Linked DNA regions of Homo sapiens: regions 1, 2, 4, 5, 6 and 7 are each linked to region 3. The links are contacts of gene promoters, found by promoter capture Hi-C in blood cells and fetal thymus (Javierre and others, 2016). All regions are on one chromosome and are shown on one strand. Each heading gives the region's core, a stretch centred on a gene start or on the middle of the fragment in contact. The rest is flanking DNA. Distances are from core to core; before and after follow the strand shown.

Region 1 (3,197 bases), core at 471-2,970, 460 kb after region 3:
TTACCCTTGCTACCCACACTGCCCAGCAGGCCTTGCTGAGAGAGAAATCCAGGGGAAAATGTTGGAAATCCCTAACCCTGGGAGAGATAAGACAACCCAGTGTGGGGAGCCCTCGGCCCTCCCTCTCCTTCTCCCTGCAGGGTAAGCTGCTGGCTTCAGGCTCCCAGGAAGGCCAGCCAGTGCCAGGCGTCCGAGTCCACAGCTGGGCACCCTTGCCAGCCAGCTACTGCTCCCCGAGTCACCAGGCCAGGCTGTGTCCAGAGAGGCGTGGAGACAGCCAGGAGCCAAGGCCATGAAGCCAAAGGTCATTTTAAAAAGCACTTCTGCTGCTGGCCCCAAGTTGGGAGACAAAAGAAAGATGGGAAAGAAAAAAATAAGGTATTGTGAAACTCAAACAGATGTTTGCCAACAAAAACACCAGGAACCAGAAAAAGAGGGAAGAAGTGAGAAAGGAATCAGGGCTAGGCCTGGGGGCGGGGGAGTTGGGGGAAGGATCTAAAAGCAAGGTGGGCTGGAGGGGGTTGGGAGAGGCAGGGGAACTGTGCTTCCATCTGTAGTTAGCACAATCAAATCCAGTCACGCATCGCCACATGGGGCTTTATTATAATCAGGCCACAGAATTTACTGCGGCCTCCTCCCCTTTCCCGGCTCTCGGCGCTGGAGCTGACAGCAAAGACTGTTATCAGTTGCAAGCAGCTTTTCAGGACCTCCCCCCACTCTGAGCCCTTTATCTGGAGGTGAGGGTCTTGGTTGTGGGGAGATAAAACACGCTGTCCCCCTCCCTCGAGACTGGTACAGAGAACAGGAGAGCTTTGCAGAAAGGAAGGGGGTAAAATAAAAAAAAAAAGGTATGTCCACTCCCCTCCTACTCTTCTTCCTTGGGAGCCTGAGAAAATCCAGGGCTTTGTGGGCTGGCTGAGTCCCCCCAGCCCTCGTTGTCCTCGTACAACGGGGGAGTCGGGGATTTGGTGAAGCTTCAGGAACAATGCAAAGAGGGTGGGGGTGGGGGAGGAGCAGGTGAAAAGAACAGCACCCGCCAGGAGGGGCTGTGCATGTGCTGCGTGCAGTGAGGGCAGGAGGAGGCCCTGGAGATCAGCTCTGTGGGAATTCACCGATGACGCGGGACACAGCGGGGCTTGGAATTAGCACAGACACGCACAACTTCCCGGGCCAAAGGAGGCCCAGCGGCCGGGCTCTAAGGCCTTCTTTGTGTGAGTCATGGTCAGGCCCTGGAAAGCAGCCCCTCTGGGAGGTAGGGGCTGTTGGACACATGCTCAAACCTACAATGTAGACCCAGGAAGCAGGGGGACCCGCGGGCAGGGGGTGGGAAAACACTCTGACCGTAAACCACAGCATGCTATCTCCGTGATGCACCCTGTGCTGTGATGCAGACATTTCTGTACTCAGGGCCCACTTCTATTACTACTTGTGACATCTCACTTGTCCCCCAACAGCTCTATTGTCCTCCACAGCTCAAAAGTTCCTGGGGAAGGGGGTCTGTGCATCTGTGTGGTGTCCATCTTGATCACCCAGCTCGGCTGCTGGCTTGGGGCTGGTGCCCATGGTGAGTTAAAGACTATCCACTGTGCCATATTTTTCTAAATTTTAATTTAATTTTTGAGATAGGGTCTTGCTCTGTCACCCAGGCTGAGTGTAGTGGTGCAATCTCGGCTCACTGCAGCCTCCATCTTCCAGGCTCAAGTGATCCTCCAACCTCAGCCTCCTGAGTAGCTGGGACTACAAGGCATGCACCACTACGCCCAGCTAATTTTTGTATTTTTTGTAGAAATAGGGTTTTGCCATGCTGTCCAGGCTTGTCTTGAACTTCTGGACTCGAGTGATCCTCCTGCCTCAGCCTCCCAAGATGCACTGTGATTTATATTGCTCAGTCACCAACAGCAGCGGAAGACTGGTGATGTGCATGTGACATCCCACCACGCCCTCAGAGGGCGGGGCGGATATCATGCCCGTTTTACAGATATGGAAACTGAGCCTCAGAGAGGCAGGTGGCTTGGCCAGTCACAGAATGGCTGCTTACTGGAAATCTCAGGGCCATTTCCCCAGGGGCTCTAGGCCTCACATGATGAGGATGCCAAGGACTTAGAACCATGCCTAGCATGGCATAACTGCTGCTTTTGCTCTTGGGTTCACTCACACACACTTCCTGATCACTATCAGCCACTGGGGCACGTTCATGGGTGCTAGGATACTGCCGTGAGCAAGGTGAATGGGGTCTCGGCATGTGGAGTGGCCATTCCAGGGGCAGAGTCCGACAGAGCAACACCGGGGAAAGGAACCATTCATGACACAATTCCAGGAAGTGATAAGCATTTGAAATAAAATAAAGGGCCATTTGTGAGAGTGGGGACAAATGGGAGCCCCCTCTATTATTTTGATTGATGGTGTTATTGTCACCACTGTGTTCTGAGGCTGGGCTAACAACGAAAACCAAACGTTCAAACCTAACTAAGCTTCTACTGTGTGCCAGAGCCTTGGGACACAAAGACAAATATGACCCGGCCTCATCTTTCGAAGGAACAGAGAGGCAGATTCTCATGCATTCCCTCACTCCCTTGACACCTGTGAACCGAGCTTCCCTATGCCTGGGCCCCCCGGGGTGCTGGGTACCGGGCAGTGAAGGAGACAGCCCCATTCCCTGCCTTCACGGCTCAAAGTCTGGCTGAGATAGGAAACAAATACAAGTAACAAATAAACAGAATAAATAGAAATTGTGACAAGTGTTAGAGAAAAAAGAAGACAGCAGAGAGGGATAATCCCCAGGACACAAGGAAATGAAGAGCCTGGTGGAAGCGGTCACTTTGGGAGCCACCACGTGTCCCCAGCCTGCCTCCTGTTGCCACCCAAGGCTGCGGGAAGAGGCCTCCACCAATTTGTTTTCAGTGCCGCTCAGCCCTGGCTGATCTCTGCGTTTCAAAGGAGAACTCGCTTTGGGCCAAAAAAAAAAAACATTACTTAGGTTCAAGGGTGGTAACTGAAGTAAAAATCAAGGCAGCTGTGATTTGGGGGAGACAGTTAAGAACAAGCCAGGATGACATGAAGAGAATTTTGTTTTGATGGGAACAGGCACAGGTTTTGAAGGAGACCCTGATCCAAACTGAGTGGAGAGAGCTTAACTCATAAACGAGCAGGAGTCGGGCTTTCACAAGGTTTACACCAATCATCATTAACCCCAACGA
Region 2 (3,226 bases), core at 209-2,708, 350 kb after region 3:
CCCGTAATCCCCACACTTTGGGAGGCCGAGGTAGGTGGATCACTTGAGGTCAGGAATTCGAGACCAGCCTGGTCTACATGGTGAAACCCAGTCTCTATGAAAAATACAAAATTAGCCGGGCGTGGTGGTGCATACCTGTAATCCCAGCCTTGGGAGGCTGAGGCGGGACAATCGCTTGAACCAGGGAGGTGAGCCCAGATCACGCCACTGCACTCCAGCCTGGGGAACAGAGCGAGACTTTGTCTCAAAAAAAAAAAAAAAAAAAAAAAAGAAAGGGTTAGGAACAGACACACAGACACAGCAATAGACAGGCAGCTGCTCCTGTGGGGGTGCTCACCTGTTTCCCCACAACCATTGGCCCATTTGGGCTTGAACTTTGGTTCTGTGCAGGAAGAGCCAGGTGCTGGTTTGCCTACTGGGGCCAGTGGGCAGGGGGGCACCTCCTACAGGCTCCTTCCTGGATCATAGGCTCCTCCCCAACATGGCGCAGCGCCCTGTGAGTCCCTATCCCGCCCCAGCCTCTGGACGTGGGCCCAGCTGGCCTGACATCTGCTGGGTGCAGCCCCACAAGCTTGCCTTGTTTTGAAGTTATGTTCACAATAATGATGGCAACTACCATTACTAAGTACTCACTAGGCATGACACAGTCTGCTAACTACTTTCCATTCATGACCTTCTGTTTCTGTCTTAACCAATCCAATGAGGCAGGAATTCCTGCACCCATTTGAAAGACATGGAACGCAAGGCCTGGAGACACTGAGAGCCTAGAGATTCTAACGCAGGCCTTTGGAGTCAGGGCCTGTGCATTCCGCTCTCCTCCTCCCGTCCCCACTGTCTCTCACTCCTGTCCCTCCTCCAGGCCCCACTGTCCCTCACCCCTGTCTGTTCTCCAGGACCTGTCTGACCACCCATCTCCCTCCTGCAGTCTGACTGTGTGTATCCTATAGTAGAGATGCCAGGGCCCTCCTCACCCATCCAGGGGTGGACCCTTGGTGGAGACGCCACGTGGGACAGAGGGAGAGGGCGGGATGCCTGGAGTTTCTCTTCTACCAGCCTTCCAGGCGCCCGCTAGTGCCCACTGCTGGCCAAACTGAACACAAGCCTCTTGATAAGGGAGTTTCAGAGACACAGCTCAAGGGGCCAGGCCCCTGAGACCCACAGCGGGTGGGAGACGGACGTGAGGACAGCAGATGCGGTTCCAGCCAGCCCTCCACTCTGGAAACAGCCTGTCCCCGTTCCTCCCAGCTAACTGAGCCACACTCTGAACACCGGGTCACAGGCCTCATCCAGATGTGTGCCTCTGGCTTTTCTGAGGCACGTGTCCTACTGACCTCCCACCTCCCTGTGTCCCTTTGGCCCCTCTGGCCTCTTGGTGTCACCTCTCCTTTCCTACGCAAGTGCTCTGGTCCAGCCTGTTATGGTTCTCTTTCCCGGCTCTCTGGTGACCATATCGGCAGGGAAGGGTCACAGCCCCCTGAGATGTGGCTGAGGCAGTTTCCTGCCCCCTGCAGCAGTCAGTCCTGAGCCGGGTCAGGAGGCTCACCGCCCTGGAGGAGTGCTCCCTCCTCAGTGCCACCTCTGTGGGTTATTTCTGGAGTTTCTCTCCCAGATCTTCTGGGTGTCTGTGTCTACCAACGTCCCATCATTGCTTCAAAAACAACCGAAGCCGCCTTTCAGAAAGCTCCCGTGTCCCCCTCCCAGTGACAGCGGTGACTCAGTCCCTTGCTGCCTTGGCTCAAAGGCTTAGAGTCTCCCAGTTCAACCCCCACATGCTGGATGGAGGAATTTCTCGTAAGACGCTTTCACCAGTCCCTCTTCTCCAAAGGAAGAAGAGATGAAGCCCCTCCTCTGGGCCAGGCAAATGACTTTTCCCGAGCTCCGCTTTATGGCTACCTGGCTGTACTTTACTGCATTCTAGAACAATGATGATGATTGTAACAAAAATCTTAATTGCTTTCCTAGTTCCCGTTTAAAACAGTTATTTTTGACAGGGTAAAAGGCTCTGGGTCACTGAGATCTTGCTCACACTCCAGGTTGTCCCCTGTACTGAGTGCTGTGACTGAGAGGGACAGGGGATGGGGGATAGGGGGTTGGGGCTGGGTGTAAAGAGGAGCTGGGTGTGGTTACTGCAGACGAACTGATCAGGAGTCTGTCTCCCTCAGTGAGGAAGCAGAAGTTAAACCGGGGCATCCAAACTTTTGGCTTCCCTGGGTCACCCTGGAAGAACTGTCTTGGACCACACATAAAATACAATAACACTAGTGATAACTGATGAACTAAAAAAAAAAAAAAAAATTGCAAATTTAAGGAAGTTTACAAATTTGTGTTGGGCTGCATTCAAAGCCCAAGCTTGGGTTGGACAAGCGTGATTTAAGATCTCAAAGGAAAATAAAAAGGCGCCACGCAGGAAGAATGTGAGGGAAGGGCATCCCAGGCAGAGGGAAGAGGCAGCTCGAGGGCCCTGGGGTGGGAGCCTGCAGGGAGGAAGGCCGGGACAGCGAGTGCAGGGTCAGGTGAGGTGGGGCCTCGGTGCTGGGGTGAGCAGCGGGACTCGACTTTCCATGCGTCAGGGAGGCCCTAGAGGGTTTGAAGCTGCAGACTGACATGATCCAGCTCACGGATCAGTCAGGCCACACTGGCTGCACGAGGACAGCTGAGCCGGAAGAGAGGAGATGAGGGTGCAGTCTGGTGGGCGCGGCATGAAGGGGCACCCTGAGATCTCTGTGGGAGTGGACTCCACTACTCCTGTGTGCTCACAGATCTGCCCCTTCCAAACAGTGCGTGCCTGGGGCAGGGGTGCAGGGGCCAGGCTCAGTATATGGCCTCTAGGCTGCCTCACTCCCCACTGCCAATTCCAGGCCAGGCCTGGCGAGTGGCTGGAAGCTCTCCCTCCTCTTGCTACCTTTCACTCTCCTGCAGTTCCTGAACCTTCCCCAGCTCACCAGCTTTCTTTTGGCCACAGGGAAGGCAGTGACGCAGGAAGGGTTGGACAGCCCTGATTCCCATCATTTCACTGTGTGAGCCCTGGCAGGGGCCTGCAGCTGCCTGGGCCTGATAACGCTTTTGTGACGGAGATGCTACTTGCATCACTCCATTTTAAAGATGAGGAGACTGAGGACTCAGCAGGTTAAGTCACTTGCCGAGGCTCACGAGGCTGGAGAGTGGTGGACTGTTACGGAGCCCAGGCAGATCCGAATACAGAGCCCATGTCTGCTCACCCCGCACC
Region 3 (3,399 bases), core at 597-3,096:
CTGGCCTGGCAGGCAGCAGGGGAATGTGAATAGAGGACAATCATAGATCCTGCAAGGCCAGGACAGGAATCTCTCAAATCCCCGCTTTCCCGCGTTCCTGATCTCATTCCTTTTCTTTCTTCTTTGAGCTCAGGGAGAAAGCCAGCCTCCCCCGAAATAGGAGATGGGTGAGGCTCAGGTTGGGGGTGGGGTGGGGGAGGACCCAGGACTCTAGGGACCCCACATCTACTCACACCCATGTCTCTAAACAGGGCGAATTTGGGTGACATTGATGTAGTGAGGGCATTAGAAGCCATAAGTCACTTTTGGCCTTATCCGGCAGCGTAATTGGCCATATGCACCTTATCAAAAATCATTAGGCACTTTGCAAGCACTGCTACATTAGGGGCATCGGGCCTCCGGGTCCAGGGAGTTAACACGTGTAAAGGAGCGGCTGACATTTTCTCCCATTCAAATTCTCAGTGCGGAGTCGCTGGGGCCGGCAGGCTGCCTTTCTCTGTGGCGTGATTCACGCCCCCATTCCTCAGCGCGGGGAATTCCTGTTCACAAAGCCGGCTCTGGGTGCCCAGAGGAAACAGGTAGGGCTCAGCTGCCCCAAACTCCAGTGGCTTCCAGGCTGGGGAAACTGAGGCCCAGAGAGGTGATCTGCCCTGGCCAGCCACAGGGCCCACAGGGGTAGGGGGGCTGGGGAGGTGCCACAGCCCAGTCTAGACCCCAGAGGTCCTGATTCTCAGCCTCGATTTCGTTTCTACTTTTCAACATGGGAGGAAATGTTTAAGGGGTTGGGAGGTGGGTGGGGGAGGTTCTCTCCTCCCATCACCAGGGGAGACCTTCCTCGCTGGGCCCCCTCTGGAGCTGAGAAGTTTCTGTTTGGGATTGCGGCCGATGGGCTCACACATTCTGCCTGGAGCGAGAAGCCTTCAGGCGTCTCTAACTCATGCAAAAATCCTTCCTCTCTCTCGGGACGGGGCTTGAAGCTTCTGTCTTGGGGTTGCAGCTGCTTGGAAGGGGCGGAGAGGAGTGGATAGCAAGTTTGTCAGGGCTTCCTCCCTCTGCCCCGCCAGCGCTCTGAGCCGGCCTCGAGCCAACGTGAGGCAGCGAAGCAGCGTCCTTCTTCCTCCGCCTGGGCTCGGGACCTTTCCTGGACCAAGGACAGGAGGAGAGCAAAGTGCTGCCCGCTCCCCATCTAAGCTTGTGATCCGGGGAGGCTGGGATGGGGATGGGGGTATCCCCTTCCCCAGCGCCCCAGTGGAGCGCGCGCAGGGTGGGCGCGCAGGCAGCAGAGCGGCGCGGCCTCTTACCTGAAAAAGTCATTTTTGCAGTAGAGCTTGCCCTCGCGCGAGAAGCACTTCTCCGAGAGGTTGGTTTTGCACTCGCAGCACTGAACACATTTGATGTGCCACGCGCGGTCCAGCACGTTCAGCAGAAAGCGGTCGAGGATGGGCCGCTCGCAACCGGCGCAGTGCACCATCATAGCCCCGCGCCCCGGCGGCTTCGGCCGCCTTGCCCTCCCTTTGGGCCCCTGGCCCTCGGGCCTGCCGGGCCCTCCGCTGCCCTTCGCCTCTTGTCTCAGCAGCTGCAGGGCGAGTCTGGTCCGGACCAAGACTCAGCCGGTCCAGTCCTTGGGCAATCTCTGGCCTGGCGCTGGGCTGCCCGGAGTGGGGTGGTGGGGGGCGGGTGGCGTTCACAACCTCATGCCACGGGCCGCACGCCCCGGCGCCTGTTCCGGGCTTCCCCAGGTATCTCGGGTGGCTGCTGGCCTCGGCGCTGCGGAGCGGCTTTCCCCGGTGGCGGAGGCGCCGGCACTTTCCCCCACTTTCAAGCGGTCCGGATCCTCATCTTTGTCTGGTCGCCGCGTAATTCGCGCATCCTTATTCAGATTTGGTGACGTGGCGCTGCACGTAGGGGGCCCAGCGGCCAATGGGCGCACCGTGGCCATGGCAACCTCTTAAATTTATAGCATATCTAAATTGGCTACAGCGTTGCTGTCCGGACAGAGCAAAAAAAACAAGGCATCAGTATTGTTGAGTATTAGCTTGTACCTGGTTCGGAGGCTAAGTAAGTATTTACCTTCCAGTTTGGGGCTGACGGGGCGGGGGCAGCGCGAAACGAAAATTGCGTCTCTCTTCCTCTCTCTTTCTCCTCACAAATATTTGGGGGTCACGGGTTCCAAGGCCTAGTCCGGGAGGTACCCCTGCCCCCTTCGCCATCCCTGGAACTTGCAGAAGTTGCCCCACGCCCCACACTTCGCTCCCCTTCTCCAGCCCAGCCAGCCCAGATTGGATTCCCCCACCCCCGCGCCCCCTCTGCGCCCTGAAGCTGCGTCAGCGCGGTTCTCCCGGCTCCTGGAGCCGGCCCCGGCTTCTTTTTGTCATACACGGGGCTGGGGCCCAGCCGGGCCTTTCTCATGGAGAGAGCTAGTGGAGACCGCGCGGCCTGGGTAGTTTTCCCCGCCCGGCCGCCGAGCCCAGGCCCAGGCCCAGGGTGGGGAGGCGGGGGAGCAGGAGGGGTGCCATTTGGCCTGGTCCCGAACTCCAGAGTTTCAGGCCTGAGTGCGCTGCTCACGGGGCTCTGAGGGAGATGTGGACAGGGGGAGATTCAGGGTGGACGGGTCTTCCCGCAGACAGCTCGGAGGTGGCACTCACCACGTCTCTCCTTTCCTCGCTGCACCTTCCAGATTCCAGGTCAGCCTATGGGGCACTGTGGTGAGTGGGTCGTACGGCTGAGGCGGGGGACACCAGCGACTATGAGAGCGCTGTTTGTATTCACGCCGTGCGGGCTGGGTGTGCAAGTTCGTCCCCTCATTGGGCGCAGGAGAAGCGGCGCACGTATGTTCCGTGCTCGGCAGGGCGCCCAGAGTGTGAGGAGAGAGAGTGTGTGTGTGTTAAGGGGGAGGGGGGATGTTGGCAGGTGTGCGTGAGGAGGGGGTGTGTGGGTCTGAGTAGGAGAAGGGACCAGGCCTCCTTTCCCCTGGGGCCAGCGTGGCCACCAGGGATCCTAGTTGGGGAAGCCGGGAATGGGCAACCAGGATTTGCCTTTCGCTTCTGGAAAGGGGGCTGAGGGAGTAGGGCCTGGGACCAAGGGCTGGAGCTGGAGGGGTTTGTGCCAGCACTTGGCTGTGAATGTTTGTTTGGGTGTGTTTCCTGAGCTTGTTAGTGTATACTCGCTGTTTGAGAATTCCATTTTTGCATCTGTTTATTGTGTTAGTACCATCAATCCTGTGAGTAAATTTCTGCGTGTGCGTTTTCGTGTGTGCAGATTCGTGTGTTTGTAATTGTGTATGGTCCTGCTAATGTTTGTGTTTATCACTGTGTGCACTTTTATTTTTGTTGGTCTGTGCCTATGTGTGTTTGCTTATTTGAGGATGCATAAATGTGAGGGTGTTTTCATGTGTACGTG
Region 4 (3,483 bases), core at 495-2,994, 480 kb after region 3:
TTCAAGGCACTGTTTCCCCCCTAGATAATTGTATATACTTGGGATTAAACCTGGCTTTTTTCACTTCTCATTAAGCTTGAGTATTTGGTTTTTGTGTATTAGTTTTGCAAGTAGCCACCTAGTGGTTTTGGTTTTGTTAATTAAAGCATGTGATTTTCTGAATGGTTGATACTGAAAGAATTCTGACAAAATTACAAGCAACTCAGTGAGTTTAATAAAACCTACATGCTTGCTACTCTGAAGTTTGATAAGTTGTAATTCAGATATTTATAAACATAGAGTACCAGAACAGATAAAGACTTCAAGAGAAAAAAGGGCAAAAGACATGATCGGGCACTTTCCAAAAGAGAAGATATATTGGCCAGGTGCGGTGGCTCACGCCTGTAATCCCAGCACTTTGGGAGTCCAAGGCGGGTGATCACCCGAGGTCAGGAGTTCGAGACCAGCCTGGCCAACATGGTGAAACGCTGTCTCTACTAAAAATACAAAAATTAGCTGGACATGGTGACAGGTGCCTGTAATCCCAGCTACCCGAGAGGCTGAGGCAGGAGAATCACTTGAACCCGGGAGGCGGAGGTTGCAGTGAGCTGAGATTGCACCATTGTACTCCAGCCTGGGAGATAAGAGCGAAACTCTGTCTCAAAACAACAATGACAACAAGATATACACGATCTACAAATGTGAGAGAGTATGATCCATCTTACAAGTAATTTAAAATATAAATTAACATGAGATGCCAATTTTACCTATCACATTGATGAAACATTAATAATACCCAGGGTTCAGGAAAATGGGCACTTGTAGACTCTGCTACAGCGAGCATAAACTAGCAATGCTCCCAGAGGGCAACTGATATTATGTGCCAAAGCCTTAGAATTGTACACACATTTGCCTACACAGAATATTTATCTGGAGCAAAGATCAGCAAACTATGGCCCACGGGCCAAATATCACCATGGTCTGCTTTTGAATGGCTTGCAAGCTAAAAATGGTTTTTACATTTTAAAGGATTACCAAAAAAAGAGAAAACAACGAATATGTGACAGAGATTAAATGGCTTACAAAGCCTGACATATTTACCATCTGGCCTTTACAGACGAAGTCTGCTCACCCCTAATCCCAAGGAACTGAATTATTATTTATAACAGCAAAAAATTGGATATAACTCCCACGTCCCAATTTAGGGGACTGAGTAAACCTACAGAAGTTTACCCTGAGTAAGGAAGAGCATGAGCATAAAAAATGCTGCTGTAGCAGAGTATATTCAATATTCAAAGAGGTCTATAACATACCATGATGAGGAGGAAAAAGGGGTTTCCAAAGAGTTCCCAGTAAATGATTGCTTCTTAGACATACAAAGACAAAAACGTCCAAGAAGAGGCTTCAGTGAGCTATGATGGCAGCACTGTACTACAGCCTGGGCAACACAGTGAGACCCTGTCTCACACACACACACAAAAATAATAATAATAAAAACTAAAAACAAAGGAAAACAAAACAAAAACCATCTAAGAAGACACACCCAAAATGTATCAGTGGACGTCACTGGGTAGATACAAGTGTGTTGGCCAGGGCAGCCCTAGTTTGCCTGGGATGAGTTGTCACTGTATTTGGAGTCGTTAGACCTGCGGTAATTACATCCACAGCCTGGCACCCCATTGGGGTAGCACCCCTCTCACTCTCAATTTAGTGTAGATGATAATTTAGTAGTCATCCTACTTACAGGCAATTTTTAAATATTTTTTATTTAGCTACATGGTTTTGAGTTTTCTATATTGAACTACTACTTTCACGAAGAACGAAAATTAAGTGTTCTTCTGCTGTTACAGACCCAAAGGCAGCAAACTACAGTCCACAGGCCAAATCTGGCTCACTGCCTGTTTTTGTAACTAAAGTTTTATTTATTTTTACCTACTTTCTGAGACTGCTTCCTTGCTATAAGAGCAGGGTGAGTAGTCACAACAGAGACCGTGTTGATCACGAAGTCTTAAATATTAACTGGCTGACTGCCCCCACAACCTTTTCTTTAACAGAGTGTGTGCCCACCCTGGTGTGGGTACTGGTGAGTGAAACCAGAACCTCCTTTGTCTTGGTGTAGCCATGCCTGTTTCCTGACCCTGACGATGCCGGAGATGTTATTTCTCAGCCTTTTTGGCCCCCAATTCCTTCCAGCTCATGTCCTCAACCGACTCTAATGCCCCCATGCACCAAAGGCTCCTGGCCTCCCCACCCTCGTCTCCTGCTCCCGCAGGCTGCCGACCCTTGTCCTCAGTTAGCACATACCTCTGTGACATTGAACGGGGCTCCCCGCAGCTTCACGGTGTGGCAGGTGGTGGGTTCCTTCTGGTTTGCTGGTTTCTCTGTCTGAGTGATCACAAAAACAAACAGAAGTGGCCACACTAACCCTTCGTACAGCTGCAGGAGGTGGCACACTGGGACATTTCAGTGCCAGAGAAGGTGCCTGCCGCCAGGGGGAGCTGGGGAATGCTGGGAAGAATCAATGTCCACCGTGTATGGAGTCTGGCCAGAGGTGGGGCTAGGTGATGCCAAGTCTCCATGTGCCCCTGAGACGAGGGCTGGAACCAGAGCCTGGCAAGCTATGGGCACCTGGACAGGGACCCTGGGGCTACAAGGAGGGGCAGGGTGGGAATGTGAAGGAGCCCTGAAGAACGGGGTGTCAGTACCACTATGTAGGGCTTATCAGTGCCAGACACTAAGCCAAGCACTTTACAGATGCCAGTGATCTACTACATCTTCACAACAATCCCATGGGGATTATGGGTTCAGGATCCTTTTTCCCACAACTCCGGAATCCAGACACCTCTGAAAAAACCTAAGTTTCTGGTAACCTTTATGGCAACAAAACCTGCCCCGACTTGAATGCACTTCCCAGCAAAGCCTGCCCTGAGTGGATGTGAGCCCATATATAGCTTATGCTGATTCACGCAGCGCAAGCAGTCTTGTCCATGCGTTGCAGAAATGTGACTGCGCTTGACCGTGGGGTGCTGCCTTTTATCCTGTATTTAGTAACAAGGTAGGCAGAGGGGAGTGAGCCCTGCTGGGGGTGCTGCATTCCAGAGGGTTCTCTTCCTGAAACCTGAAGATTCCAGAATTCCAGCATATACTTAGGCACGGGGTCAGAAACCGGAGGCAGGGAGCAGTGCTACCATGAGTGCCTTTTTGTAAACGAAAATTCAGAGGCTGAAGGAAGTAAAGTATCTCACCCAAGGACCAACAGCCACTAAATGATGGAACTAGGATTTGAACTCATAATTCTGACTTCCCCACACTCTACTACCTCACTGAAATATACAATTTTGGGGGGGAAGAAAAGGACAGAGTGCATAATTAGAAGAGGCAGAAAATAAAAGGAGGGAGGAAGAAGAAAGGGAAAAGAGGAAAGAAAAGAGGATGAAGCTTGCTTTCATCTCATTTGAAAATACAGGGCTGGGGCCAGGTGCAGTGGCTCAGGCCTGTAATCCC
Region 5 (3,562 bases), core at 258-2,757, 340 kb before region 3:
TCTCAACAGCTGCCCCCTTGACGCAGCTGCAGTGTTTTGGGGGTTGGGAATGTCATAAAATCAGGCAGGAAAGTCCTCTCTGGGAGCCCACACCTTGGGGAATCAGCACAGAGCTAAGACTGAATCTTGACACAGGTGAAGGCTCCCAATCCATGCTCCTGCTCACCTGGGCCACAGGGGAACTCCTAACAGGTCCTCCACCCTCCCAGCTGGATGGGAGACCCCAGGCAACCAGATGGGGACTCCGGTCCAGAGCTCTCATTGCCCAAATGGGAAACCAAGGCCCAGAGAGAAGCAGGTTCAAGGTCACACAACAAATGTCCTCCAGAGGATCCCACACCTGTCGCAGGTGCTAAGGCCCTCAGAGCCCCTTCTGGGCACTATGCCAAGCAGGAGGGGGAACCCGCCCCCCATATTCTGCTGATTCAGCAGCTGCTGACTCAGCCCTGGGGGAAGCATAGCTTGGGACTAGTAGTGAAGGGAGCCGTAGGGTCCCCCAGTCCCATTGCACCTGGCTGGGGAGGGGGTCGCAGCAAGGAATTGGCTCTTCAAGCAGCTCAGCACCCGGGGAAGGCCCACACGAGGCTGGGAGCCACAAGACTGGGGAGCTCAGGGCTTGGGGTCAAAAGGACCCTGGAGGGCCACCTGGTGACACTCTGCAAACCTAAGCACCAGATCCACACAGGATGTTAGGGCTCATCTGATCCCAGGCCCTCTCCAAGGGTCCTCCCCAGGGTTCCCTTGCTAGGCCCCCACCCACGCCTGGAGGAGCCACCTCCAACATCTGCCTGGACTAAGGAAGAGACCCCCCGCTTTCTCCCCTCCCAGATCTGACAGAATATGGCCCTCTAATCCCCTCTTCAGCTCTGGACGACCCCCTTTAGTACATCCCGGGAACAAAGACACCCCCTCCCCTGCCCGGGGGTGAGGCGGGGCATCTGCTAACTCTAGGCGCCCCCCTCCCACCGGGACAGCCATGGGCATGCGGCCTCTCGCCCCTTTAAAGCGGAACTGCCCCAAGACCAGTCTTGGACAAGAACCCCTCGCCCTCCTGCCAACCCGCCCTGGCACGCGGAAAGGGCGACGTCGGCCCCACCCCAGGCCTTGCGCGCCCCTCACCCAGAAGCGCCCGAGGAGTACTCACACGTCCTTGGCAGGCAGCGCGCGGCCCTCCACCACGCGAACATTCAGGGAGCTGCTCTTGGCCATGGCGCCTAGCCACAAACTTTCCAGGCAGAAGGGCGCTCAGGTTCCGAGGCTGGACCAGGGGACGTCTACATGTCACCTGCTTCAAGCCTGGCTCCCTGCCTCGTGGTCCCAGTGCCGCCTGTCCGAGACCCGGGTAGCTGGATGGGAGATTTCCGAAAGAGGAGAAGGTGTAGGTGCCCGGGGAGGGAGCGCCCGTCCGGACTCTACAGGTAGGAGCCGTGCTCCGAGCAGGAGGAGCGCGCAGGGGGCGCAGCGGGCTCTTGCCGAGGCGTCTGGAGCTCCAGACAAGCAGGCTGGGCGGGCAGGGGGCGGGAGGGGCGGCCCAGGGACCTCCCCACAATCCCGCCTCCAATGGGGTCCCCCACCTGACCCCGGGCCCCCTCGCGCGCCCTCTACCGGCACCCCAGTCATGCGCGCCAGAGCGCACGGGCGGCGGAGACAAGGGTGCACCGCCAGGTGGGGAGGGGCCCCCGTCCTGATGGGCGTGGCCGCTGGCTCCTGGTGAGTTGGCATTGGGCTTAAAAGACATGGTCTGTGCCCCCGCCTGTCCCTCATCCAACATATTCACACCTCTCCGCCCCCACCCCTCCTTGCCTACCATGCAGACACCTGCCTCCTCTCTCCAACCTCCGCGCCCCCCGGTCCAGGAGCAAGTATTAGTGGTGGGTGGGAGGCGTCGCCAGAGAGAGGGTCGCATGTTCCCTGGGGGTCCGTTCAGAGTCAAGGGAGGGGCCTTGAACATCCCCTTCCATCTCGTTCTAGTTTCCAGTTAAACACAGAACCCAGACTCTGCTCTAACGTCACGGGCTGGCACTGCGGGGGAGGAAGCCGCGGCCAGATGGGGGAGGGGAAGGCTTGAAGATAACCACTACAGCGATGATAAAAAGTCATCTACAGTTGTTTGAACACTTCATGGGTGCCAGGCACTGTTCTAAGCGCTTTACTGGGATTAGCTCATTTTTGTCTCCAGATGTGCACTACACACTACTCCACTGTTACCCCATTATCCGCAGTTTATGGATAAAGAAACTGAGGTTCAGAGGGATTAAATAACTTGGCAGAGGTCTCACAGTCAGTAACTGATTTGCCTTCCAGGGGTTCGAATCCTGGCTCTGCCATTTGGTAGCTGTCTGGACTTGGGTAAGCCATTCAACCTCTCTGTGCTTTGGTTTGGTTTTCTCATCTGTTGAGTGAGGATGACATTGCATTTCAGTCACAGGATTTTGAAAGAATTAAAAGAGTTAATGAAGATAAAAGTCTCAGGACAGTGACAAGTACCTAATACACGTCCAGAAAGTGTTTGATATTCTGATTGTTGTCCTTTGAGGCGTGGGCCACGCGTCACCTCTCCTGGGAAGGCTTCCAGGATGCCCTTCCACTCCGGTAGAGATTTTCTTTCCTTTCTCTCTGCTCCAGTGGCTCCAGGTTTGTACATTTTTCTGATTTTAAATGAGATAATATGACAGGCAGGGCCTGTCCCAGAACAGATCCGTTCGCACACTTATTTCTCCCTGTGAATTCATTGTTGACCTGCCCAAGACCTCTTAGAAAGGCCAGGCACCAATGGGAGTGCCCCTGCAGACTGAGTGCGGGAGCCAACGCCCAGACCGGTGAGACCAGGAGTGCCCTTCCTGGATCCGTCAGCAGCCCAATGGTCTGCTTCCCAGTCTCCCTTCTTGACTCCCCACCCAGCAACCCAGACAGGCTGATGAGGAACTCAGAGCCCTGGAATTCCTTCCCCAGCTGGTGGCTGCCTGGTGAGTCTCTGACCCACCAGAGATGGGGTCTCAGTTAATCCCATCTGGGAAATGGACCTAGCAGAACAGGCTCCAAGGCTTAGAAGTATTGCAACATCCTCAGCGGGGCATGAGGGGTAATCCAGGGTTAGATCCAGAACAGTAATAGCCCCAAAGGAGTCATCCCACTGTGATTTTTTTTTTTTTTTTTGCCCAGCTGGAGGGCAGGGCTCGATCTTGGCTCACTGCAACTTCCACTCCTGGGTTCAAGTGATTCTCCTGCTTCAGCCTCCTGAGTAGCTGGGACTACAGGCACCCACTACTATGCCCGGTTAATTTTTGTATTTTTAGTAGATTTTTATAGTTTGTATTTTTATATCACCATGTTGGCCAGGCTGGTCTTGAACTCCTGATCTCAAGCAATCCACCCACCTCAGCCTCCCAAAGTGCTGGGATTATAGGCGTGAGCCACCATGCCTGGCCCACTGTGATCTTTATCAGTTACCCCAGATTCTCTCCAAAGAAAATATACCACCTAAGGTGGTGGGGGGAATGGTACTTAAGGTATTTGCTATGTAACTGAAGCTTTAAGACGGGAATCCTGCCCCCCGCCCCAC
Region 6 (3,551 bases), core at 385-2,884, 400 kb after region 3:
CGTCCGGGAGGGAGGTGGGGGGGGGTCAGCCCCCCTGCCCGGCCAGCCGCCCCGTCCGGGAGGTGAAGGGCGCCTCTGCCCGGCCGCCCCTACTGGGAAGTGAGGAGCCCCTCTGCCCGGCCAGCCGCCCCGTCCGGGAGGGAGGTGGGGGGTCAGCCCCCCGCCCGGCCAGCCGCCCCGTCCGGGAGGGAGGTGGGGGGGGGTCAGCCCCCCCGCCCGGCCAGCCGCCCCGTCCGGGAGGTGAGGGGCGCCTCTGCCCGGCCGCCCCTACTGGGAAGTGAGGAGCCCCTCTGCCCGGCCAGCCGCCCCGTCCGGGAGGGAGGTGGGGGGGTCAGCCCCCCGCCCGGCCAGCCGCCCCGTCCGGGAGGGAGGTGGGGGGGGTCAGCCCCCCCGCCCGGCCAGCCGCCCCGTCCGGGAGGTGAGGGGCGCCTCTGCCCGGCCGCCCCTACTGGGAAGTGAGGAGCCCCTCTGCCCGGCCAGCCGCCCCGTCCGGGAGGGAGGTTGGGGGGTCAGCCCCCCGCCCGGCCAGCCGCCCCGTCCGGGAGGTGAGGGGCGCCTCTGCCCGGCCGCCCCTACTGGGAAGTGAGGAGCCCCTCTGCCCGGCCACCACCCCGTCTGGGAGGTGTACCCAACAGCTCATTGAGAACGGGCCAGGATGACAATGGCGGCTTTGTGGAATAGAAAGGCGGGAAAGGTGGGGAAAAGATTGAGAAATCGGATGGTTGCCGTGTCTGTGTAGAAAGAAGTAGACATGGGAGACTTTTCATTTTGTTCTGCACTAAGAAAAATTCCTCTGCCTTGGGATCCTGTTGATCTGTGACCTTACCCCCAACCCTGTGCTCTCTGAAACATGTGCTGTGTCCACTCAGGGTTAAATGGATTAAGGGCGGTGCAAGATGTGCTTTGTTAAACAGATGCTTGAAGGCAGCATGCTCGTTAAGAGTCATCACCAATCCCTAATCTCAAGTAATCAGGGACACAAACACTGCGGAAGGCCGCAGGGTCCTCTGCCTAGGAAAACCAGAGACCTTTGTTCACTTGTTTATCTGCTGACCTTCCCTCCACTATTGTCCCATGACCCTGCCAAATCCCCCTCTGTGAGAAACACCCAAGAATTATCAATAAAAAAATAAATTAAAAAAAAAAAAAAAAAAGAAAAGGCACTGTGTATTTTAGGAAGATTTCCACTGAATGGTCAACATTTTCAGAGGGCTGATACTTAAAGGTATAAGGTGGCAAAGTCACTTACTGGGGAAACCCCTCATTGTTCAGTGATGGGAGAAATGAGACGCATGGTGCGGGTGATGAGCTGAGTTACACGTGTCTGGACCAAGTGGGGAGTGCTGTGCCCCAGAGGGCCAAGAGCCAGATATCTCGCCATCACCCTGGAGACCTGCTTAGCACAGAGACAAACAGATGAACCTAGAAACCCAGTCACCGCCCTGCTAAATGGAAACAGAGAACAGCAGCAAGGTGGAGGGTGCCACCTCAAAGGTGCTCCGACCCAGGCTGCTTGTCTGCACACGACTAGCATTTGCTGTCACCCTGCTTCATTTGTCACCTCGATGTTATGGGACTTTGCATTCTATTGCACATTTTTTCCCCTCTATTTGTTTATGGTTGGTCTTCCTTGCTAACTACTGAATGGCCGGCACCCAGAACAGTTCCAACAGCACCTGGCACACAGTAGGTGCCCACTAAAAAGTGTCTGTGGAGTGCTGATGAATGGAGTTATTAATGGATGCTTGTCTTTTCCTGGATTTTCTGATTTCTGGCCCCTCTCATGATCGGGCTCTCAATACCTGAAATAAGAAACGGGGAGTGGGAGGAAGCGGCACTTGCTGAGCACCTGCCCTGGCCATGCCAAATGCTCTACACGCGCTGCCTCCCTTTAGGCCCAGAGCAGACCCACTGGGCGGCAGGCCTCCCAGGACGCATGTGAGACCTCGAGGGGAGGTCTTATCTGAGGTCACAGGACTTGCGTGTGGGTCTGTCTGACTGTGGATTTTGCTTTGGCACACTGTGCCCCACCCTGGGGACAGTAACCAGCTTCAGCCCTTGAACTCAGTCCTTATGTTCTAGCTGGAGCCCGCCAGCCACTGGGAAATGATGGCAGAAGTGGAAAAAGAGGCTGAGGAGATGATGATGGATAGGGAAGGCGGCTTCTGAAGAGCTAGCATTCTAGAGGTTTCTGACACCTGCCATGAGGAGGAACACTCCAGAACCCCCATGATGTTGGAAAGCCCAGTTCAGATGCTCCCCATCCTCTTGGCAAAAGGCCAAAGCATCCAAATGGCCCTACACAACGGCTGAAAAGAGGGAGCGGGCATGGTCACTGAGTCTCCCTGGGAAGTCCCAGACCAAGAGGTCACAGCCATGAGGGGACCACTTTTCCAGACCAGTGGGGTACAGATTGGGGTGTACTTCAGGTAATTGAGTAGCTTCAACATCTGAGCTTCTCAAGAAAGCCAGGCCTACTGTCAACCAGGAGATGACAGCCAAGACACCTCTGCAGAAGATGCAAGCGGCGAAGCCACGGTGCGGACCGTTCGACAGAAAGCGTTGGAGGCCTCCCAGGGACATGTCAGGGGACAGGGAGCACGGGAGCGAGTGATTCATGCCGCAGAGCCTGCCAGTGCTCATGGGGAGGAGAACGAATCACCCTGCTGGGACAAATATTATTTTTAAAAGTCTGGGAAAGAAAACAACAATAAAACAAGCCGAGCTCAGGATGACTGGTGAGTTTTAAGATGCAGGGAAGGGTTGAAATGAATCTGCGAGTTGGACCATTTGTTTGAGGCCAAATAAACCAACAAAGAACTCGATTCAATTACAAAAGTTTAGAATTGGATGGTGAGTCAGAAGCTGAGAGCCCAAGAGGTCTAATCGGGTCTGTGCGTGGCCTGGAGTCCAGGACCGAGAGGAATGGACTCTGGAAGGCTGGTTCCTGGTGGTGATAGGAAAAGGCAGAACATGTGAGTCAGAGCACGCAAATGTGACAGCCCAAGTCGGGACAGCCCTTGGACATCTTGGTGTATGTAGGTGGGAGTCTCTTTTCTTAATAAGAAACCCAGTTAGGACCAGATAGGATTTGGGGTGTAGCAAAACCAAGGAGCCTGAGGCAGAAGTGAAGAGAAAGACGAGAAAAATCAATGGTCAGGAGGCCCCTTGCAACAGCCACTGTTTATCTCACAAGTGCGTTAAAGAGCGTCATTTGCAAAGTTCACGCAGAGGGAAAAGTCAATGATCGTGTCTCTGGCGACGCACAAAGCCCAGGATGTGCTTCATCTCCCAGCTGCCTCTCTGTGCACACACAGGAGAGGGGCCGTTTGTGTGAATCTCGGCCACACCTCCCCTGTCCTCACTTCCTCCTCCTCCATTCCATTTGGAAGATGGGGAAGTGTGGTCACAGCTTTTTCTGAGGCACAGTGACTATTCCAGCAGGCCTGTGGTGACGTGTGCCTTGGGGTGGGTGTGGGGTGGGGAATTTATTGTTAGAGGAAAAATAATCAAAGGTTTTCACACCCTCATGGGGCAAGGTGGGAAATAAT
Region 7 (3,079 bases), core at 208-2,707, 420 kb after region 3:
CTCCCCTTTCTTGCTTTGGTTGCTAGGGAGCTCTGATTGAAGTTTTGTGCCCCTTTATAAACATACTCCTCAGACTGGGGGTTGCAATGTAATTTTCTTTCAACTGACATTTTTCTCAAATTCTGCAGGGATGAATTAAGGTCTTAATTATTCTGGAAGTAGATGAGGAATCTACCTGCTTACAGAGCTGCATTTTCCTGAAAAGGGAATAATAAGCTACAAATCTACTTCTCCAAATGAAGGTCTGGGCTAGGACTCAAAGCCTGTGCTATCTGAGAGCAGAGTCCAAGCACTGGCTGAAGTGCTTTGCAGACAGTCAAGTGGGACACACCCTTGTGCGACGACACTAAGGCCACGACTGGGACAGCCACATGCCTGACCATTTTGATATTGGACAGGGGCTGTCCTTCACCTGAGCAAAGCACTTCCCCAAGCCTGCTCTTCTGGCCAGAGGACAAGGCCCATCGCAGGGGACGTGGCACACAATGAGAACCACTTAGGCCAGCAGCCAGGGAACTTCACTCATCAAGGCTTCTGTGCAGCATGCACAGTGATAGTTGATATTTGCAAGGATGAAACAGGGCCCAGCAGGTCCTGAATCACCTTCTGGATCATCAAAGATTTCAATTACACTCCATCGAGTTCCCATGTTAAGTATATTTTATTATATTTGAATTCCCTGGAAAGTGGCCATCTATGGTATTGATGGTAACTCTCCATTAACCTGCAAGGTGGCCTGCCAGGAAGACCAATGCCTCATCTTGGTTGGGCGGGAGAGAGTGTGTGTCAGTCCACGAGGGATGATGGGGCAGGGAAGGTGAGCTGCTGGGAGGGAAACAGTCAGGACCACCTCTCAACCATACAACATGCCCGGCTCCAAACCCACTTTCCTTATCTGTGAAATGGGCTGCCTGGCCTCCTGAGAGTGAAGGATACGTACGGCATTATGAAAGATGAGGAGAGTTACATGGGTGAAATAGGCAAGATTGCCAGACACATGTCAGAGAGGGGAAGACGCCTAACAATACAGAAAACACGACATCATTTTCTCTAAATGGACACAACACTATCACATCCGTCGCCTACAGGTTCACATATGTACAAAATGCAAAGACAAAGATCTAGAAGGAGATTCGCAAATGAGTGGCATGAATTTCTCCAGGGAGGAGGGTGGCACAAGACTTGGGTGGCAGTGGATGAAAGGATATCTTGGCCTTAAATTTTACTTTCAGCAAGGAAAACATATTCATGTTTTAATTGTGCAACTACATTTTTTAAAAAAGAAAAAATCTTATATATAGGATATATACTATATATCTATTGGATTATATATAGAATATATACTATAGCTATATATAGGATTACATATAGGATATATTTTATATATGTGTATATATAAAAATCCAATATATACATTTCGTTCTCTCTCAAATATACATGTACATATCTATGTATCTCTCTATACACATATCTATAGATATATATGTAGAGAGGAGAAAGGGAGAGAGAGCTCATGTGTGCTGGGTGCATGGTAGGGGTACAATAAAGGATGAACGATTATAATTAGGCTGTTTTTGAATGTCAAAGATGACCACATATTAGCATTTTTCTGTAATTTAACCTGTCAACTGTCAGCTAAAGGGCACCCCAATCCATGAGGTCGCTGGAGGTAGCTAGAATGAGGATGGAAGTGAAAACAAAACAAAGCAAACCAAAGAGAAACATCCTGGGCCCTGGGTCCACCTATCTTCCCTGTAATGTGCTTTGTTCGCTTGCCCCAGAGCAGGGAAAACCAGGCAAATTCTCCGGAATGCAGCGGCCCCATCACGTGAGGTGCTTAGAGCTCCAGGGAATTTCTGGGCTCGGGGGCATGTCCGCCTTAAAGGTTCAGGCCCAGGCTGTCCCCACAGGCTCCGCCCCCCATGGGAGGGGAGCCACACCCTGGCTCCAACCTGGAGGACCAGCTCTTGCCAGGAACACTGGGAGGCACAGACATTACAGTGAAGAAAATTAATTTTCTTCTGAGACTTTTATGTTTTGGATGCTCTTGTGACACCCCATTGAGATGGCTGCAGGCAGGCTGGGTTTTTTCCCGAAATCTGGGCTGAGAAATCCATGTTCTGAAATGCATTTTACAAGAGAACAGAGGTGAGGAGAGGGAAGGCGGGAGGAATGGTGAATAACCCTGGATACCAATCCCAGCGCCTCCAAGACGATGGTGAAATGTACGAAGAGTCGAAACAAAATGGAATCTTGAGGCCAGCACAGCCTTTCTGGCTCTATTACAACAAAAGAACCTCTCCTATTTATTGAGTGCTGATTTTGCACCAAACACTAGGCTGCAGGATCTTTTCATGGCACTCCTAGGCCGAAAGAAATACCTAACAGTTTGTTTATTAAGTAGTTAGGGCTAAACAACTTGACAGTAGCAGTTTACACCATCTCTGACAGATGTGGCTGTTTTTCCTCAGAAATCTGAAATAGCCCACAGGAAAGGTGTCAGTTCACTGTGGCACCCTGAGGTGCCTTGGTACACAGTTTGGGAACCATGGCTTTGGGCCAATGGCTTTACTTGTTACTTTACTGAGCCCTCCCAATAGACCCGGCAAGTATTTATTATGATCTCCATTTTATAGATGCAGATACTGACAGTCAGTGTTTATTTTTTTATTTTTTGAGATAGAGTCTCGCTCTGTCGCCCAGGCTGGAGTGCACTGGTGTGATCTCAGCTCACTGCAACCTTTGCTTCCTGGGTTCAAGCGATTCTCCTGCCTCAGCCTCCCAAGCTGGGATTACAGGCGCCCACCACCATACCCAGCTAAGTTTTGTATTTTTAGTAGAGATGGGGTTTTACCCCGTTGGCCAGGCTGGTCTCAAGCTCCTAACCTCAAGTAATCCATCTACTTTGGCCTCCCAAAGCACTGGGATTACAGGTGTGAGTCATGGCACCCGGCCCAGAGTGTTTAAATGACTTGTCCAAGTGTGACAGCTGAAGGAGGTAAGATTCAAACACCAATCTAGCCAGGTGTGGTGGCTCGCACCTACAATCCCGGCTACTCGGGAGGCTGAGGTGGGAGGA

Evidence for each region. Contacts are between HindIII fragments. The CHiCAGO score rates a contact against its expected background, and 5 or more counts as called.
Region 1: a contact is called between a fragment that was not itself captured here and the fragment with the promoter of LHX5 in region 3, in 4 of 17 cell types (endothelial precursors, M1 macrophages, M0 macrophages and 1 more). The highest score is 6.4, in endothelial precursors.
Region 2: a contact is called between a fragment that was not itself captured here and the fragment with the promoter of LHX5 in region 3, in 2 of 17 cell types (megakaryocytes and M2 macrophages). The highest score is 6.9, in megakaryocytes.
Region 4: a fragment that was not itself captured here is called in contact with the fragment with the promoter of LHX5 in region 3 in 1 of 17 cell types (megakaryocytes); the score reaches 6.2 in megakaryocytes.
Region 5: a contact is called between the fragment with the promoter of RASAL1 here and the fragment with the promoter of LHX5 in region 3, in 9 of 17 cell types (erythroblasts, neutrophils, total B cells and 6 more). The highest score is 14.5, in erythroblasts.
Region 6: a contact is called between a fragment that was not itself captured here and the fragment with the promoter of LHX5 in region 3, in 1 of 17 cell types (M1 macrophages). The highest score is 5.1, in M1 macrophages.
Region 7: a contact is called between a fragment that was not itself captured here and the fragment with the promoter of LHX5 in region 3, in 2 of 17 cell types (M0 macrophages and endothelial precursors). The highest score is 6.4, in M0 macrophages.

The regions. Positions count from the first base shown.
Region 1 is chr12:113,932,352-113,935,548 of GRCh38, forward strand. The region is part of intron 16 of RBM19 (RNA binding motif protein 19); the gene reads right to left. Among named protein-coding and RNA genes, the nearest start is that of RBM19, 32 kb to the right of the region's middle. RefSeq lists enhancers at 1-366, 1-1,900, 616-760, a silencer at 623-801 and a cis regulatory region at 679-696. The HindIII fragment of the contact is 1,497 bases long and covers 973-2,469 here.
Region 2 is chr12:113,817,968-113,821,193 of GRCh38, forward strand. It overlaps a transcript of RBM19 not described here. Among named protein-coding and RNA genes, the nearest start is that of LINC01234, 46 kb to the left of the region's middle. RefSeq lists enhancers at 1-908, 909-1,834. The HindIII fragment of the contact is 1,778 bases long and covers 570-2,347 here.
Region 3 is chr12:113,470,025-113,473,423 of GRCh38, forward strand. LHX5 (LIM homeobox 5) reads right to left here and starts at 1,847. Exons shown (of 5, transcript NM_022363.3): 1 at 1,302-1,847. The coding sequence starts at 1,474. It overlaps LHX5-AS1 (LHX5 antisense RNA 1), which reads left to right and starts at 1,979. Exons shown (of 2, transcript NR_126425.1): 1 at 1,979-2,058. RefSeq lists an enhancer at 929-1,729. The HindIII fragment of the contact is 6,712 bases long and covers 1,190-3,399 here.
Region 4 is chr12:113,952,848-113,956,330 of GRCh38, forward strand. RBM19 (RNA binding motif protein 19) reads right to left here. Exons shown (of 24, transcript NM_016196.4): 7 at 2,284-2,364. Among named protein-coding and RNA genes, the nearest start is that of RBM19, 12 kb to the right of the region's middle. The HindIII fragment of the contact is 3,342 bases long and covers 74-3,415 here.
Region 5 is chr12:113,134,254-113,137,815 of GRCh38, forward strand. It overlaps RASAL1 (RAS protein activator like 1), which reads right to left and starts at 1,508. Exons shown (of 21, transcript NM_001301202.2): 1 at 1,145-1,508. The coding sequence starts at 1,209. RefSeq lists a silencer at 1,495-1,634. The HindIII fragment of the contact is 4,772 bases long and covers 1-3,528 here.
Region 6 is chr12:113,872,554-113,876,104 of GRCh38, forward strand. The region is part of intron 21 of RBM19 (RNA binding motif protein 19); the gene reads right to left. Among named protein-coding and RNA genes, the nearest start is that of RBM19, 92 kb to the right of the region's middle. The HindIII fragment of the contact is 5,903 bases long and covers 1-3,551 here.
Region 7 is chr12:113,894,511-113,897,589 of GRCh38, forward strand. All of the region lies in intron 21 of RBM19 (RNA binding motif protein 19), which reads right to left. Among named protein-coding and RNA genes, the nearest start is that of RBM19, 70 kb to the right of the region's middle. The HindIII fragment of the contact is 3,949 bases long and covers 1-3,079 here.